Regions from separate parts of the Homo sapiens genome. Here all the other regions are linked to region 1. Evidence: promoter capture Hi-C in 16 types of primary human blood cells and fetal thymus (Javierre and others, 2016). All regions are on one chromosome and are shown on one strand. The core of a region is centred on a gene start or on the middle of the fragment in contact, and the rest is flanking DNA. Distances in the headings are between cores, read along the strand shown.

The links. The method cuts DNA at HindIII sites, captures the fragments that hold promoters and counts their contacts. A CHiCAGO score of 5 or more calls a contact.
Region 2: a contact is called between a fragment that was not itself captured here and the fragment with the promoter of FASTKD3 in region 1, in 9 of 17 cell types (total CD8 T cells, naive CD4 T cells, naive CD8 T cells and 6 more). The highest score is 20.7, in total CD8 T cells.
Region 3: a contact is called between the fragment with the promoter of ATPSCKMT here and the fragment with the promoter of FASTKD3 in region 1, in 16 of 17 cell types (total B cells, total CD4 T cells, naive CD4 T cells and 13 more). The highest score is 32.9, in total B cells.
Region 4: a fragment that was not itself captured here is called in contact with the fragment with the promoter of FASTKD3 in region 1 in 5 of 17 cell types (naive CD8 T cells, total CD4 T cells, naive B cells and 2 more); the score reaches 12.3 in naive CD8 T cells.
Region 5: a contact is called between a fragment that was not itself captured here and the fragment with the promoter of FASTKD3 in region 1, in 1 of 17 cell types (total B cells). The highest score is 5.9, in total B cells.

The regions. Positions count from the first base shown.
Region 1 is chr5:7,867,202-7,870,280 of GRCh38, forward strand. It overlaps FASTKD3 (FAST kinase domains 3), which reads right to left and starts at 1,830. Exons shown (of 7, transcript NM_024091.4): 1 at 1,778-1,830; 2 at 1-995. The coding sequence starts at 882. MTRR (5-methyltetrahydrofolate-homocysteine methyltransferase reductase) reads left to right here and starts at 1,947. Exons shown (of 15, transcript NM_002454.3): 1 at 1,947-2,014. RefSeq lists silencers at 1,840-2,279, 2,290-2,339, 2,400-2,449. The HindIII fragment of the contact is 2,367 bases long and covers 400-2,766 here.
Region 2 is chr5:5,486,863-5,489,941 of GRCh38, forward strand. It overlaps ICE1 (interactor of little elongation complex ELL subunit 1), which reads left to right. Exons shown (of 19, transcript NM_015325.3): 19 at 2,287-3,079. The coding sequence ends at 2,468. Among named protein-coding and RNA genes, the nearest start is that of ICE1, 66 kb to the left of the region's middle. The HindIII fragment of the contact is 1,891 bases long and covers 484-2,374 here.
Region 3 is chr5:10,248,226-10,251,304 of GRCh38, forward strand. It overlaps ATPSCKMT (ATP synthase c subunit lysine N-methyltransferase), which reads right to left and starts at 1,663. Exons shown (of 5, transcript NM_199133.4): 1 at 1,633-1,663. The coding sequence starts at 1,648. CCT5 (chaperonin containing TCP1 subunit 5) reads left to right here and starts at 2,055. Exons shown (of 11, transcript NM_012073.5): 1 at 2,055-2,220. The coding sequence starts at 2,116. RefSeq lists silencers at 1,433-1,552, 1,563-1,622, 2,373-2,442, 2,513-2,652, 2,983-3,079. The HindIII fragment of the contact is 6,282 bases long and covers 1-2,024 here.
Region 4 is chr5:5,505,037-5,508,115 of GRCh38, forward strand. No RefSeq gene overlaps it. Among named protein-coding and RNA genes, the nearest start is that of ICE1, 84 kb to the left of the region's middle. The HindIII fragment of the contact is 5,351 bases long and covers 1-3,079 here.
Region 5 is chr5:10,231,485-10,234,563 of GRCh38, forward strand. The region is part of intron 4 of ATPSCKMT (ATP synthase c subunit lysine N-methyltransferase); the gene reads right to left. Among named protein-coding and RNA genes, the nearest start is that of ATPSCKMT, 17 kb to the right of the region's middle. The HindIII fragment of the contact is 3,492 bases long and covers 1-3,079 here.

The DNA.
Region 1 (3,079 bases), core at 580-3,079:
TTTAGGACTCAGGTTGGAAACTATTGATAGGGAAAAGTTGTTTATCTTATTTAAAAATGTTTGGTGTTCATCCACTTTTTCAGTACATGCCTGCAAGATTCTATAAAGGGCCACAATATCCTCCGGGGTAAATGTTTCCAATTTTTCACCTTGAAGTTGATTTATAATGAGTTCTAGTGTCACACAACCTGAACTGTGCAGTGTAATCAGACTTTCCCCAAGAATACAAAGATTGCGAACTTCCATGCCACCTTTTCTGAGACGATTTTGGCATTCTGCCACCAGGTTCAGCAACAGGCTACTTTGAGGATCCACATGCAACAGAATCAGAGCTTGCAAAGCAGTCACTAAACTAGTGTTTGACAGCTGTGAGGGCTCCTTTTCAAACTGAAAGCATAAAGCTTGAAAGATGCTATTCTCCAGTATTTCTTTTGGCAGCCCTTGATCACCATCCTTTTTTTCCACTTCACAAATTCGTTGTAAAGCTCCTGCTGCCATAGTGTCAGGCAGGGTTTCCATCGTGCTTATAAAACTTAGCACTTCTTCTGATGAAGTCAAGTTGCTCAGTCTCCTGTAAAACATCTGACTCTCCTCATTTTTAACATTTTGTTCAAGCCTGTCGCAGTCAGATACTTGAGAGAACACTGGTCCACCGAGTGGATGAAGGTCATTTCCATTTTTCGAATGAAACTTTTTACAATGGGCATGATGGAATTTGACCCCGAAAGGCTCAGGTTGTCGTGAACACAACCAAGGGCACAGACGCTCCTTGACTACCTTGTGAACATGATTTAGAGGTTTATTTTTTAAAGCAGCCAGAGCTCTATGCATCTGAAAATCAGATAAACGATAAAGGTTCTTCCTCAAGGTGATTAATGCCATACCATCAGATTCTCAATTTGATAACTAAATTAAAAAATTTAAAAACACATGGTTAAATACATTGAGAACATGATTGACCCAACATCAATGTTTATGAAACTACAAACGAGTATCTGGAAAAAAAAAAAAAAAAAAAAAAAGGATGGTTAACATATAAACACCAGAGGGGCAAAGTCTCTGCATCCTAGAGTTAGAAGAGTGGCTGACATTGAACAATAACAATCGCTATTACTTGCTAAACACTGTTGTAGGTATTCTATTAACTTACACAGATTCAGTACTTTTACTATCATTTTACACGAGGAAGAAGTTGAAGCACAAAGTTACTTTGCCCAGTTTATGCAGGTGGTTAAGTGGCAGAGCTAGGGTTCAAACTCAGGCAATGTAGCTCTTAAGGGTGGCCCTTAAATGTTGGTTGAAGGAAGAAATTGCATTTGGATAGAAATCAAAGAACAGGTAAAGTGGGCAAAATTAGGCGAGGTTAGAGCAAGGCAAGGGTAAAAACGCGCTGGAAAGGCCCTAAGCTGTTGGTTTCCCCTCGGTGTCGGGAGAAGGTTAGTGTTGAAGGAAAGGGTCTACTTTGTCAATGGAAACAAGGTAGGAAAAGAAAAAGCAAAACATAGATCAATGAAGGGAGAAGGTGGGGCGGCCAGTCCAGATCTAAAGACGGTGCGGGGGGATTTGGCAACACGTGTGTGCAAGACAGACAGACGGGAGGCCCCGCGGCGCGTTTTCCTAGGAATGAAAGGGACCCGCGGGGCGAGCACCCCCAAACTCGGCGCCCCGGGGACCTGCGCTGAGACACGGGCCGGGCGGCGCAGCCTGAGGAGAAAGCCGGCCAGGTCTTTGACACCCAGCCGGACCAACTGCGCGGAGACCCCGCGTTGACACCTACCGCGCTCTGCCGGGCAATCACTCCGGGTGGTCGCGGAAGCGCCTGGGCGTCGTGGGCCTCCGTAGCAAACGCGGGGCGGGAGCACGACTCAGGGCGGCGCAATGTGATTGGCCCAGGTCCCCTTCGGAGCTTTCTATTGGTCCTGGGTACCGAGCATGGGCGCTGCGTCAGTGCGCGCTGGCGCAAGGTTGGTGGAAGTCGCGTTGTGCAGGTTCGTGCCCGGCTGGCGCGGCGTGGGTAAGCTGCCTGTCGGCTACGGTTCCCGGATTCCGGCCGCTCGCCCTGCACTAATCTCCTGGGAGAGGCGGCCCGGGGCGGGGGTGGGCAGCCGGCTTGCGCCCGTGGTTCCCACGCCCTTCGGCCTCCGGGGGTCGCCGCGGGCGCGGGCTGGGGCTCGGACTTGGCCTTTGGCCTTTGGCTTTGGTGTCCCCGGGAGCGTGTCCTTGGGCTCGGCGTCGGCCTCTGCCGCGGGAGGCCCCTGGGCGGCGTGGGGTCTCTCCTCATGTTCTGCCTTTGGTTCTAGGCGCTTTCCAGGCCTAGGGAAACCGCACTCGGGGACGCGGGGAACTGGGGAACATGCCGGGTTGGGGCGGCGCGCTCCGGGGAACCCGGGACGTTCCGAGCGCCCACCCGGCGGGACGCGGCCGTGAGTTCTGCCCGCGGCCGTGAGCTCTGCCCACCGCCTCCGCGCCGCTTCCGGGGCTGCTGGGGCCCGGGCCTCCGCTGAGAGTCGTGGGAAGGTGGTGCCGGATTGTGGGGCAGTAGCAGGGATGAGGGGTTGATTGATCCTGGGAAGCCCTCAGGATGTGTGTTTCATGGGAAGTGATAGAAATTTTAGCTGTAGTAAGGTTTTCATTATCGTTTCCACCGTTTTCTGTGAGCTGTCAATGTGTAGTGTTTTCATATTGTTTATTCACTCATTCAGATAACTTATCGAGTACCAGTTTCATGCCAGGTGCCGTTCTGGGCGGTTCATTCACCGAAAGCCAAGCTTTTGGTTTGGGTTTCAGTTTAAATCTGTCTCTGCAAATTGACAGCCCACCAATTTTAGCCGTTAGATGAGTATGGAAAAAAATCTGTGAGTGTCGTTTGTTTTACTACTGCTTATCTCTTGCGGAAAAACGTGTTAGTAAAATGTTTAAGTGGATTGGAAATATTTTTTCGTTATATGCACCCGTTTGTATATATGCCCATACACTCACATATTTTTGATTTGCATTAAATAATGAAGGAGAGTATGTGCTTCAGTTACCTTTAGTACTATGATTAGTTTGTTTAGCGTTAGGATCAAATAAGAACCAA
Region 2 (3,079 bases), core at 179-2,678, 2.4 Mb before region 1:
TTCTCATAGTTAAACCTTTTTTGGGGTCCTTGCTGTGTGCTGTGCTCTGTGCTTTGCTTGCTGCCTCATAGATTAGGGAATATTTGCAAAACATTCCAGCATTAATATTGGAATGTGTGTGTGGATTTTGTGGTGGTATTTGATTACTTAAATAAAAGTCGTTTGCCTTGTTGGGCACTGCTTTCCTAAGGAAGAAGAAAGTCTCTTCTCTTCCTGCGGCTAACATTCTGCCTCTAAAACTCTGTACTGTGTGATCCCTGACAAGTGACTTAACCTGGGCTCTCTGCGAGGCCTCCTGGGTGGAGCTGTGTCTTGACGGAATGAAATCCGTGATGTACAGTGAGATGCCAGGTATCACAGAGTACTTAGCATCAAGGGGGGAGAGCTTGGAAACCTGGAGACCTTGTGAGCAAGGCTTCGTAGTGGGGATTTCTATTATCATTTACGTATTGCATAGCATGTAATTTTATCTCTTGTGGGAGAAGCTTAACTCAAAGTAACTCTTATAAGGGATGAATCTAGTTTTTATTTTGAATATTGTATAATCAAGGAATAATACAGTTAAGCAACATGCCATCAGAAATGCACAGAGTTACATTTTAAATACTGTATAACACCCAAGATGATCTTAACATGGTAGGTTGTCTTCAGCTTTCAGTGGGAGACTGTATATTTAGCTTAATGAGAACAGTGTTTCTCATTTAAGCTGCTTTATCTGAAATACCTTCTTTAACTTTAGGATAGCTGCTGAAGTGGTACACATTTCTTCCATATTACAGTGTACTTTTTTACAATTGAGGTTGTATATTGACATAAAAGAAAGTAGCCAGAATAATGGCTAATGAGTTGTTTTGCCAGCAGATGCAGTTTACTCTGATACTACAGTGGGTGTAACCTAGAAGCTGTGGTAATCCTCGTCCCCATGAGGGAGAAGGAGGAGCTGATGTTGGGGCCTGCTATAGATTAGACCTTGTGCATGGCACTGCCCCACAGCCTAACGGGATCCCCAAGACAGCCATCTGAGTGGATGGCATTGTCCTTCTTGTATACAGGAGGAAACCAAAGCTCAGAGAGAAGAGTGATTTGCTGAAGGTGAGGCTAGGAAGTGCCATCCCTGCTGTTTGCCCAGGTCTGTCCCTCTCCAGAGCTAGCTCTTTAAATAGTGCCACATGCTGTTATTTATTAAAATTATTTTTAACCTCTTGTGTTTCTCTTACTGTTACACTTTTTTATTTGTTTGAGTCATGGCCTTACTGTGTGCCCCGTGCTCTGTGCTTTCTCATTGCTTGTGGTTTATGGGGGGGAGTAATATTAAGAGCTGCAGTTGTGCCTGCTTGTCAGCATTCATGTTTGAATGTGTGGGCTTTTGTATTATTTGAAATAGTGCTAGTTTACCTTGTTGGAGAAAACTGAGGTACACATTGAGTATATTTTATTTGAAATGCTTGGGACCAGAAGTGTTTTAGACTTCAGATTTTCTTGGATTTTGGAGTGTTTCCTTTATATTTATGAGTTGAGAGCATCCCTAATCAGAAAATCAGAATGCTCCAGTGAGTATTTCCTTTGTGGGTCATGTTGATGCTCCAGAAGTTTCAGCTTCGGAGCATTTTGGATTTCAGATTTTTGGAGTAGGAATACAGTGCAACCTCCAACTTTAACTCCTAAATTGTTTAACCTAAATTATCTAAGTAAATGAAATTTTCATAACTCTGAAATAAACTTACCTTAAAAGAGAACTGTGATAATACACTGTAATGTATAACTTAGCTGTAATCCAGAATCATACACTGTAGTTTTTGAAAGTATGGTACGCTACAAAAAGTTTTTCATTATATCTCTTATTATGTTTTCTCATTTCCAAAGTCCATTTATAAATGCTTCCCGTGGATATCTCATAGAGTCATATGTTTAATGAAGGTTTTAGGATCACGTTTTATTAAAACTTAAATATGGGAGTGTGATCCTTCCAGAACTGTTTTGGGAAGCTCAGTCGTGGCCGTGGGTGACTGGGATCTTGGAGGCCCTCTCCTTTTTAAAAACACACAAACAGTCCTCAGAACACTGCTGGGGCCAGGAAACTACAGACAGCTACTGTCTGGCTTTTCTTCTTTTTTATTTGTGGACAGGTCTTAAATGAATTTTTTTACTGTGGGTTTTTTTATATTTAATTTTCATTGCTGGCAGAAAGCATTCTGTATTTGAATAGTATTCCAGTAGGTTACATCACTAAAATTTTGAATAACAGATATTTTCTTGTTTTATGACTGATCTGAAATTTCTTTTCAGATATACCATGGGGTATACAGTTAGCAGCCGTGTATGCTCTTTGTGACTTGAGTCCCAGCAATCCAGCAGAAATTTCCAAGATCCTGGAAGCTTGGCGGAGAGAGGCCTCCAAAAGCGTTCCGTCTGCGATTGTCAGCTGCCTAGAGGAAGTCAGTGCCCTGAGCACAGAGGAGCTTGGCTGACCTGGGATGCCACTGAGGCTTGAGAAGTGCCTTGACACATTTTGAACACAAATAGTTTGATCAGCTTTCAGAATACAAAGGGAGGTTTCAAAACAAAAAGACATAAAATAGATAAAACAGACCAGAGGCTCTCCTTATTGTTTGGCAAGGAGACAGGAGAAACAAGCAGTCGCATAGTCGTTTTTCCCTAAATCTAATACGTTTCACTTAAGGCTGTTGTGATCTGTGACATATGGGTTATATTATTGTGTCTTTGTCAAACAACAAAAACTTGAACTTAGCCCTTTTTTTGCTGCAGAAAGTGTCCTTTTAGTGGCTTCTTAAAATTGAGTGGCATTTTATAATGAACTTACCAATATAAAAACATGATTTGGTTCCTGAGCTGTTGTTGTTGGACTTGTGTTCCAATGAGTGACTAGGAAAAAATAAATTGGCAAAAACCTAGAGTTTTCTGCTATCTTTGCTGGAAATGAGTTGCAAAAGTTTTTCTCAAGATGTAGTGCGTAATTGATCAGAGCAAAACATGCAGAGCCCTTAGCAGAAACCCACTTTAATGCATTTTCTTCATATCCCTAAAGTTCCTTAAAAATATGTGACAATGCATCAGGAAG
Region 3 (3,079 bases), core at 413-2,912, 2.4 Mb after region 1:
TACTAGTCTAATGTCATTTGTGTCCTTTTGACATACATGAGCTATTGATATTAGGAAAAATCCTCTCTCACTCCCCAGTGTTTTGACAGGGAATCAACTACACAGAGGATGCCATAGGACATTCTATTTTTCACAACAATCGAAGGAGCCAAATGAATTGCAGAAGTCACCATTTTTAATGAGGAAACACTGAATTGGCAAAGCTAACGTGAAATAAGACCTGACTCCAAAATCTAAAATGTCCTTGAAGAACACTTCAAGGTCTAGCGCGTAAGTATGCCAAGCATGAAGAGTTAACAGATCACCAACCATCCCATGACAGTCAGTCCTCCCTGTTTTTAGAGACAGAATCTCGCTCTGTCGCCCAGGATGGAGTGCAGTGGCGCGATTATAGCGCACTGTAAACTGAACTCCTGGGCTCCACCCATCCTCCTGCCTCAGCCCCAGAGTAGATGGGAACACAGTCGCCAAGTCTGTTCTTGAGTTTCAGGACAGGGTCAAATGTTATAGTGCATGTATTCATTTCAGCACTTATTGAGTGCCTAATAAAGTCTGGGAATAATACAACTTTATTAGTTAAGTCCCTGCCCATGGCAGTAGGGGAGAAGCAAGGATGGAAACCCTCAACAAATAAATCTAAACCTATCAAATATTAAGTCATGATCTTGGAGGGCGGGGAGGAAGGCAGCATAAGAGATTTAGAGGACAGCTGCGGTTGCCAAGATCTTTCTGAGGCAGCATAATACAGGGCTTAAGAGTGAGACCTGCCGGGCACCGCGGTGGCTCAGGCCCAACACTTGGGGAGACCTAGACGGGTACATCACTTGAGGTCAGCCGTTCGAGACCAGCCTGGCCACTACGGCGTTAACACCGTCTCTACTAAAAATACAAAAATTAGCGAGCGTGGTGGTTCTGTGCCTGTAGTCCCAGCTGCCTGGGAGGCTGAGGCACGAGAATCACTGGAACCCGGGAGGCGGAGGCTGCAGTGAGCCGAGACCGCGCCACTGCACTCCAGCCCGGGCTACAGTCTTGTCTCAAAAAAAAAAAAAAAAAAAAAGAGTGTGGGACCCATTGCATCAGGCTGTGTAACTGTTTCTTACTAGCTGTATACCAGTGGCAAGTTACTGAACCATTTGTGCAAAATGTTAATTTATTTACCAACACTGTGTTCAGCTTGCCAGGCACCGTTCTCCTTGAATCTCACAGCAGCCCTGTGAGTAGGCACTACTGTTACCACCGTCACTTTGCAGACAGGGAACCCGAGGGACAAAGAAGTTAAGGGATTTCCTCAAAGCCACAGCTAGGAAGAGCGGCAGAACTGCGATTCCAATCCATCAGTGTGCCTCCACTATCCCTATTCCTTAAGATCGTGCCAAAGGCTGAGTCACTTGCACTAAGTAGCCTAGAACAGTCTCTGGGGAAACGCGCCCGCCGACAAGGATCGCCAGAACCGGCGCGGGCACCGCGCGGCGACCAGGAGCTCTGGTCACCGAAGGCCAGGCTGGAGGCCAGAGCAGCCGCCCGCACCCGGTCACCGCCTCGACAGTGGAGACCTCAGCTGACCGCGAGCCCCCGGCCCGCCCGCACCCCTTCTCATGCCCCCAGGAACCCGCCAAGCCGCTCCAGCCTCACCTCCTCCTCCCTCCATCGCGAGATTTCCAACAGCGTTTTTAAAAAAAAAAAAAAAAAAAAAAAAAAAAAAAAAAAAACCGGAAATGGGTCCTACCATCTTCTCGGAGCCGGAGTGCGAAGAAATAAAGAAATAGTGCTTTAAGTCAATGAATTCCTCCTTGGGACCCACTATCGAGAAACTATCAGTGGTAACGTTTTAAAAAATGACAAATTCAATCTGCTCTTGACTTGTGTGTCCTAAGATTTCCACTAAGTGTCTTCAAACCTCCCCCTCCCCGGCTTCCTGGATAATAGAAGTTCCCGAAGGCCGCCGATTCCAGAAGATACTGTCTGGCGTGAAATTAGTCTCAGTAGAAACATAAGTCCCGCGCGTCTTGTGCTGCGCGTGCGCAAGCTTTTGGGCCCTCCCGAGAAAGGGAAGTGCATTCTCGCTTCCGTAGCGGTCTCCGCCGGTTGGGGGGAAGTAATTCCGGTTGTTGCACCATGGCGTCCATGGGGACCCTCGCCTTCGATGAATATGGGCGCCCTTTCCTCATCATCAAGGATCAGGACCGCAAGTCCCGTCTTATGGGACTTGAGGCCCTCAAGGTAATGGCACAGGGACCTGCTCGCGGTGGGCTAAGGGGAGGTGGCCGAGGCCGTGGCTCTGCGCCTGCGCGAGTTGAGGAGCGGCTCTGCCATGTGCTCCCCGGAAAGGTCGAGAATCTCCGTCTCCCTGCGGTCTCCGGCCGCTCAGCCCGCTTACTGAGCTCGGGAGACGCCGGCGCCTAATCCTGGGCTCGGAATGTGGGGGCCAGCCAGGCTGGGCCGCCAGCGCCCTTCGGAGCTGGGTGGGGCCGCTCAGTCCGGTCGCCCGCGGGAGCAAAGCGGGACCGCCTCCCCGCCCGGCTCCTCCAGCCTGACGGCCGCGTGGGACTGCGCTCCAGTGGGAGGGCGCCGGGGAGATGCTCTGTCACCTGTCGGTTAAGGCGCTGCTGCTTAACCTTTCGCTGGTCCACCCGCAACGGCCCTTCCGTTTTCTTTGTCACTCGTAAAGGTGTGGTCACTTAACAGGGTATTTCATTTCTGAGTGCTTTTTTGCCCACCCTTGAGGAAAAATAGCGAAGAGTGAAAAACGGACGCACATAACCGTAATACAAGGTGGTGTGCAGTGAGAAGGACAGCTACGGAGAGGGTGCACATAAGCGTGGTGCTGGAGGACAGCTTTAGATCGGGGTGAGAGGTAGCATTCTAGGGAGAGGAAACGGTAGAAGTAAAGGCTTGGGCAAGAATGCGCATGGCACGTTGTAGAATGGAAGAGCCATCCGGTTTTAATGGAGCACTGACTTCTTTAACTTACAATAGTTCCCGAAGGTGGAAGCTATTGAATGCCCAACATGGAAAATACGACGTTATCTTTGGGGAAGAAGGGGAGCCATTGAGGGGGTTTTGAGCAGAATTTCAGTAG
Region 4 (3,079 bases), core at 372-2,871, 2.4 Mb before region 1:
GTCATGGATGGATGTAGGGAAGAGACAGTTAAGTGTTTCTAAAAAAGGGCAACATGAGAGATCCTGTAGGTGATGGAACTGTTCTACATCTTGACTGTATCAATGTCTATACCTGATTATGATATTGTACTATAATTTTGTAAGTTGTCATCATTGGAGGAGACTCAGTAAAAAATATGTGGGATCTCTCTGCATTTCTTACAATTGTATCTGAATCTACTATTATCTCAAAAAGGAGATTAATTTTAAAATGAAGGGAAAATAAATACATTTTCAAGAGATAAAAGCTAAGAGAATTTCTCTCCATCAGACCTTCTCTTTAAGAAATACCACAATTGGCTGTGTGCAGTGGCTCATGCCTGTAAATCTCAGCACTTTGGGAGGCTGAAGCAGGTAGATCACTTGAGGTCAGGAGTTCAAGATCAGCCTGGCTAACATGGTGAAACCGTGTCTCCACAAAAAAATACAAAAATTAGCTGGGCCTGGTGGTGTGTAGCTGTAGTCCCAGCTACTCGGGAGGCTGCAGCATGAGAATCACTTGAACCCAGGAGGCAGAGGTTGCAGTGAGTCACAATCATGCCACTGCATTCCAGCCTGAGCGACAGAGGGAGACCCTGTCTCAAAAGGAAAAAAAAAAAAAAAAAAGAAATACTACGATAATTGTCTCAGGCTGAAGAAAAATTATAACAGATTTAACCCTGAACCTGTAAGAAGCAATGAAAAGCACCAAAAAAGGGTACATATTTGTATAATTATAAAAAACCTTATAAATTTGTGTATGAGGGAGAAAAAGAGAGTATGTTTATTCTTTAAACTGTGCATATATATCCATGAATGGTAAATTTCATAATTTAAAAAAAGGAAAGAGAGAAAAATATCAAGGGAGGCAATACCATCTGGAGAATGTCTGTCACATGTGCTGTGCTACACACAGGGGGGATGAAAATAAACTTCTATTTTGACAGCAAGGAAACCGACAGTGATAAATAAATGTGGTTAGTAAGTCAAAGTAGTCCCAAGTAGAGGAAGTGGAAAAGCAAGAGGAGGCGGTGAATTACATGAGTTTCTCTAACCCTCTCAGGTGTACTAAAGCCAGTTTTCAAATCCCGTGTTAACAGCCAAATGGAAGCAAGTCTATATTGCTACTCTATTACAGTTGCTCCTGAACAATATGGGTTTGAACCCTGCAGACTTTCTTTTGCTTCTGCCACCCCTAAGACAATCAGAACAATTTATCTTCTCCCTCCTCCTCCTCAGCATACTCAAGAAAATACAACCAGGATGAAGACCTTTGGGAAGATCTGCTTCCACTTAATGAAAAGTAAATACATTTTCTCTTCCTTATGATTTTCTTAATAACATTTTCTGTTTTCTAGATTACTTTATTGTAACAATACAGTATATAATACACACAATATAGAAAACCCGTATTAATTAACTCTGTTATTGGTAAGGCTTTCAGTCAACAGGCTATTAGTAGCTAAATTTGGGGGGAGTCAAAAAATTTTGGACTGTGTAGAGGGTTGGTGCCCTTAACCCCACATTGTTCAATGTTCAAGAGTCAACTGTAATCAATATTTTGTAATTATATTTTAAAATGTGCCTTATGTGAGATCCACTATAAAAAGAACTTGATCACTAATATACTGCATACAAAGTCAATTTGAGATGAATTATGGACCCAAATGTAAAAGCTAAAACAATCATAAAACTTCTAGAAGAAAACACAGAAGATTACGTCTGTGATCTTGGGGCAAGCAAAGATTTTTTAGGAGACAAAAAACATGCTGATAAAATTAAAAAACGATTAATTATACTTCATCAAGATAAAACAATCCGGCCAGGCACAGCGGCTCATGCCTGTAATCTTAGCACTTTGGGAGGCCGGGGTGGGTGGATTGCTTGAGCTCAACAAATACGAAAATTAGCCAGGCATGTGGATCGCTCCTGTACTCTCAGCTGCTTGGGGGATTGAGCTGGGAGGATCTCTTGAGCCCAGAAAGCAGAGGTTGCAGTAAGCCAAGATCATACCACTGCACTCCAGCATGGGTGACAGAATGAGACCCTGTCTCAAAAAAAATAAAATCTTCATCACAAAACATTATCAACAAAATAAACAGTTAAGTCACAGACTGTGAGAATGTATTCATAAGAAAGAGGATTTGTATCCAAATTACATGAAGAACTTCTAAAACTCAATGATAATAAGACAAAGAACACAATTTAAAGGAGAAAAAAAGCAAAGAGGCTGTTCACAAAAGAAGACATAAAAATGGCAAATAAGCACATGAAAACCTGCTCAACTTCATCAACCATCAAGAAAATACAAACTAGACACCCCAGGAGCTCCTACCGCATGCTGCCCTAGAAGACCTGCAATGCCCAAGGCTGACTGCAGCAGGTGCTGGGAGGAATGCGGAGCCCTGGGATGCTTATCTGCTGCTGGCAGGGGTGGAAAATGGTACAGCCACTTTGGCAAACTGTCTGTCTTCTCCTAAAATAATATACTTCCATCCTATGACCCAGTGATGTCATTCCCAGGTATTTGTCAAAAATAAATGCAATATATTCATAAAAGTTCCTTTACAAAAAAGACTTTTATAATAGTCAAACCTGGATTGTTTAATCAACACGTGGGTAAATTATGCTTTGCTCATGCACTTGGATAGCAGTCAGCACACAATATGCATGAGTCTCAAGAGTAACAGGCTAAGAGGAGTACAGCAAACACAGAAGTGTACATCCCAGGTGATTTAATCCATACAAACTTGAAGAAATAAGCACAAGAGACTGAGGGTGACAGAAATCTGATCAGTGCAGGTTTTGCAGTGGAGGACTCACGGGAAGGAGAATTAGGTGCCTTTCTGGGACGGGGAAGATGCTCTGTGTCTTGACAGGCACCGTAAGGTATACTTGAGATCTGAGCACTTCCGTGTATAAATTGCACTAAAATTAAAGTTTCCCTTGGGTGCATCTGCATAATTATGTCACCCCTGAGGCTGAGAGAGCATGGTAGGAACCACCATGGTCCTTGGAGATTCCTCAACAAAACCGTCTAGGAGGAAAAAGGGCAGAATCT
Region 5 (3,079 bases), core at 165-2,664, 2.4 Mb after region 1:
TGCTTCCTCTCTGACCTCCCCACGCACACTCATGCCACACCTGCCTGCTTGCTGCACTGCCCCCCACCCTGCCCGAGGCGCTCTTCCCTGCACGCCCCCTCCCTAACCTCAGAGGTCACCTTTGCAGGGATCCTGTCCCTGCCCCACCCCGCCCTTGCTTTGCTTTGCTCCACAGCACTTTTGCTTCTGCTGTATGATGCATCTTCTACAGGCATCTCATGTAATATCTGCTCTCCCCACTAGCATATGAGCACCTGGGGCAGGTGTGTTTTCTCTTGTACTCACTGAAGTATTCCAAGCGATTAGAACAGGGCTTGCTATAGTGGCCACACTTGTCAAATGAATGAAGGAAAGAAGGAAGAAAAAGTGATTCAGCTACGAGTTATTTTTCTTCACTAGAACATAATGATAATATTTTTGTTCATCAGTTCATAAAAGCCAAGCATGGTGGCTCACACCTGTAATCCCAACACTTTGGGAGTCTGCAGCCGGAGGACTGCTTGAGCCCAGGAGTTTGAGACCAGCCTGGGCAACATAGTGAGACTCTGTCCCTGCGAAAACTAAAACCATCAGCCGGACATGGTGGCACACGCCTGTATTCCCAGCGACTTGGCAGGCTGAGACAGGTGATCGCTTGAACCCAGGAGGCTGGGGCTGCAGTGAGCCAAGATCACGCTCTACTGCACTGCAGTCTGGGCAACAGAGTGAGACTCTGTCTCAAAAAAAAGAAAAAAAAAATTCATAACAGAATTTGTAACTAAAATTGGTCATTCTTTGAAGTTATGAAAGTAGATAGCTTTCTGGGAAAAGTATAAATAATGGGTATATTTAGACCACATTCATTCATTCAACAACCGTTTACTGAGTGATGCCTGTGCCAGTGCTGCGGTGCTGGAGGCCTGGGCCAGCTAGAAGAAGAAAGGCCTGGTCCCTGCCCCTGAGCTGATGGTGCAGTGCACACAGCTAGCAGTGTCGAAGCCTTCAGACAAAGAAATGCACAATAACCCATCTAAGGACAGGGCAACAAGGTACTATATGAGAGTAAAGCGGGCCGCTGGAGCTCGCCTCATTGTCATCAAGGACTGCCTTGCAGAGGAAAAGACAGCTGGCCCATGAGTGGTCAGTGCTGTTCGACGAAGTCCAGAGCCAGGGAGACCACAGTCAGAAGGAAGGAAACACCCCAGGCTCTGGGAAGAGCAGCAATGGCGAGGTCCAGGGGGCCGAGAGAAGGACGGAGGGCTGGTGCAGAGAGCTGAGGGCAGCATGGCCCAGGGGAGGCTGGAGGGGAGCAGGGGCCCCTGCGCACCAGCCTCAGGGCCACAGTGAGTATTTGGGCCTTATCCCTAAAAACGGCAAGAAGTCACAGAAGGGTTTTACACAAGAGCAAGGCTGATCTGCTCTGCACTTTGAAAAGATGCTCTCAGTGCGTAAGCTCATGTTAAACATGGATGTTCACAACCCCACAACTGGCTTGACCAGATCCAGATGGGATTCCTGCTCCTTTTTAGATAGATACATACTTGTGTGGAAATGCTAGGGCACCTCTGATTTTGAGCTACAACCGCACAGAGCTGTTAGGGATCATCAGTCTGGTATCAGAAGCAGGGGTGAGGGTTTACAGCCCCAGAGATTCCTGGCTCTGGGCCTCCCCAAGGCTCCCCTGGCTCTCTGAGTATCTACCTGGGCATCAGCAGGGAACGTCACATGGCATGCTGGCTTTGTGGAGTCACCCAGCCACGGCTGGGATGGTCGACTGGCACAGCACACGCCCCCTCCCCTCATGGCCTCCACTGAGACACAGCTTGATGAAGGCTGAAAGTAGGGGCCTCCACACACAAAACTTAGCCTTCCAAACCAACAGAAGCCATCCCAGCCTCCGCACCCCTGACCGACCCACCAGCATGAAGACAGCAAGCTGGCCAAATCTCTATTACAGGGAACGTGGACACTTTGTATCCTTCAGCTGCTCCCCTTTCTCCTTGGGAATAGTGAAATGGTACATGTTCCTTATTTCAGATTTCTCTACATACAGAAGAATGGACAGTAATCACAAAAGTATTCATAAATAATAAGACTCTTATTTCCCCTGATTGAACAGCTCCATAAAGTGAGTCAGTCTACTTCAAACATGGTAAGAAGCACCCGGAGTCGGCTCCACAGGTCCTGGAGTGACGATGACTACCAAAGGCCACTGCTGCCCCCCGCTGGGACAAGTAATCCTGATTTCATCATCCTGCCTCTCCACAACGCATGGAATTTCCAGTAAATGCTAACATTCTATTTTTATAAAGCACAGATTCAAATTAAAGTTACTTGTCTCCAAAAAGCTAACAATTCCATTTTAGAACGAAAGCCCAAACATCACAGGTAATAAATCACCATCAAAATTGCGTATCAATCTATGATCCCAATCAGTTTTTTAAAAATGACCAGGGAGTGTGCCCTTCTACCTCATTTCACTTCTATAAGAAAAGGCTGAATACCAAAGTTTGGTCTTAATTTTAGGCCTAATGAGAATTATAAATGTACAGGATACTGTCACTTTCAAGAACATTTTACAAGACTGGGCACAGTGGCTCACACCTGTAATCCTAGCACTTTGGGAGGCCGAAGCAGGCAAATCACTGGAGGTCAGGAATTCAAGACCAGCCTGGCCAACATGGCAAAACCCCACCTCTACTAAAAATATAAAAATTAGCTGGGCGTGGTGGCAGGTGCCTGTAGTCCCAGCTACTCAGGAGGCTGATGCAGGAGAATTGCTTGAACCAGGGAGGTAGAAGTTGCAGTGAGCCGAGATCATGCCACTGCACTCCAGCCTGGGCAACAGAACAAGACCCTGGCTCAAAAAAAAAAGAATATTTTACAAAAGCATTTCTAAATTATATTTTAAAAGTAAAGAATATGGCATTATACTGAAGGTCTTAGTAGTAGAAATACATTTCTCAAGCACTGAAATGTCTTATACAAAAATTTGGGTATTAATTAAAAAACAAAATAAAAAAAGGTAAATTGTCTTTTTAAAAAATTAAAACCCTATCAGCTATATCACAGCATTTTAGCAAACATTCAATTCTGCCAA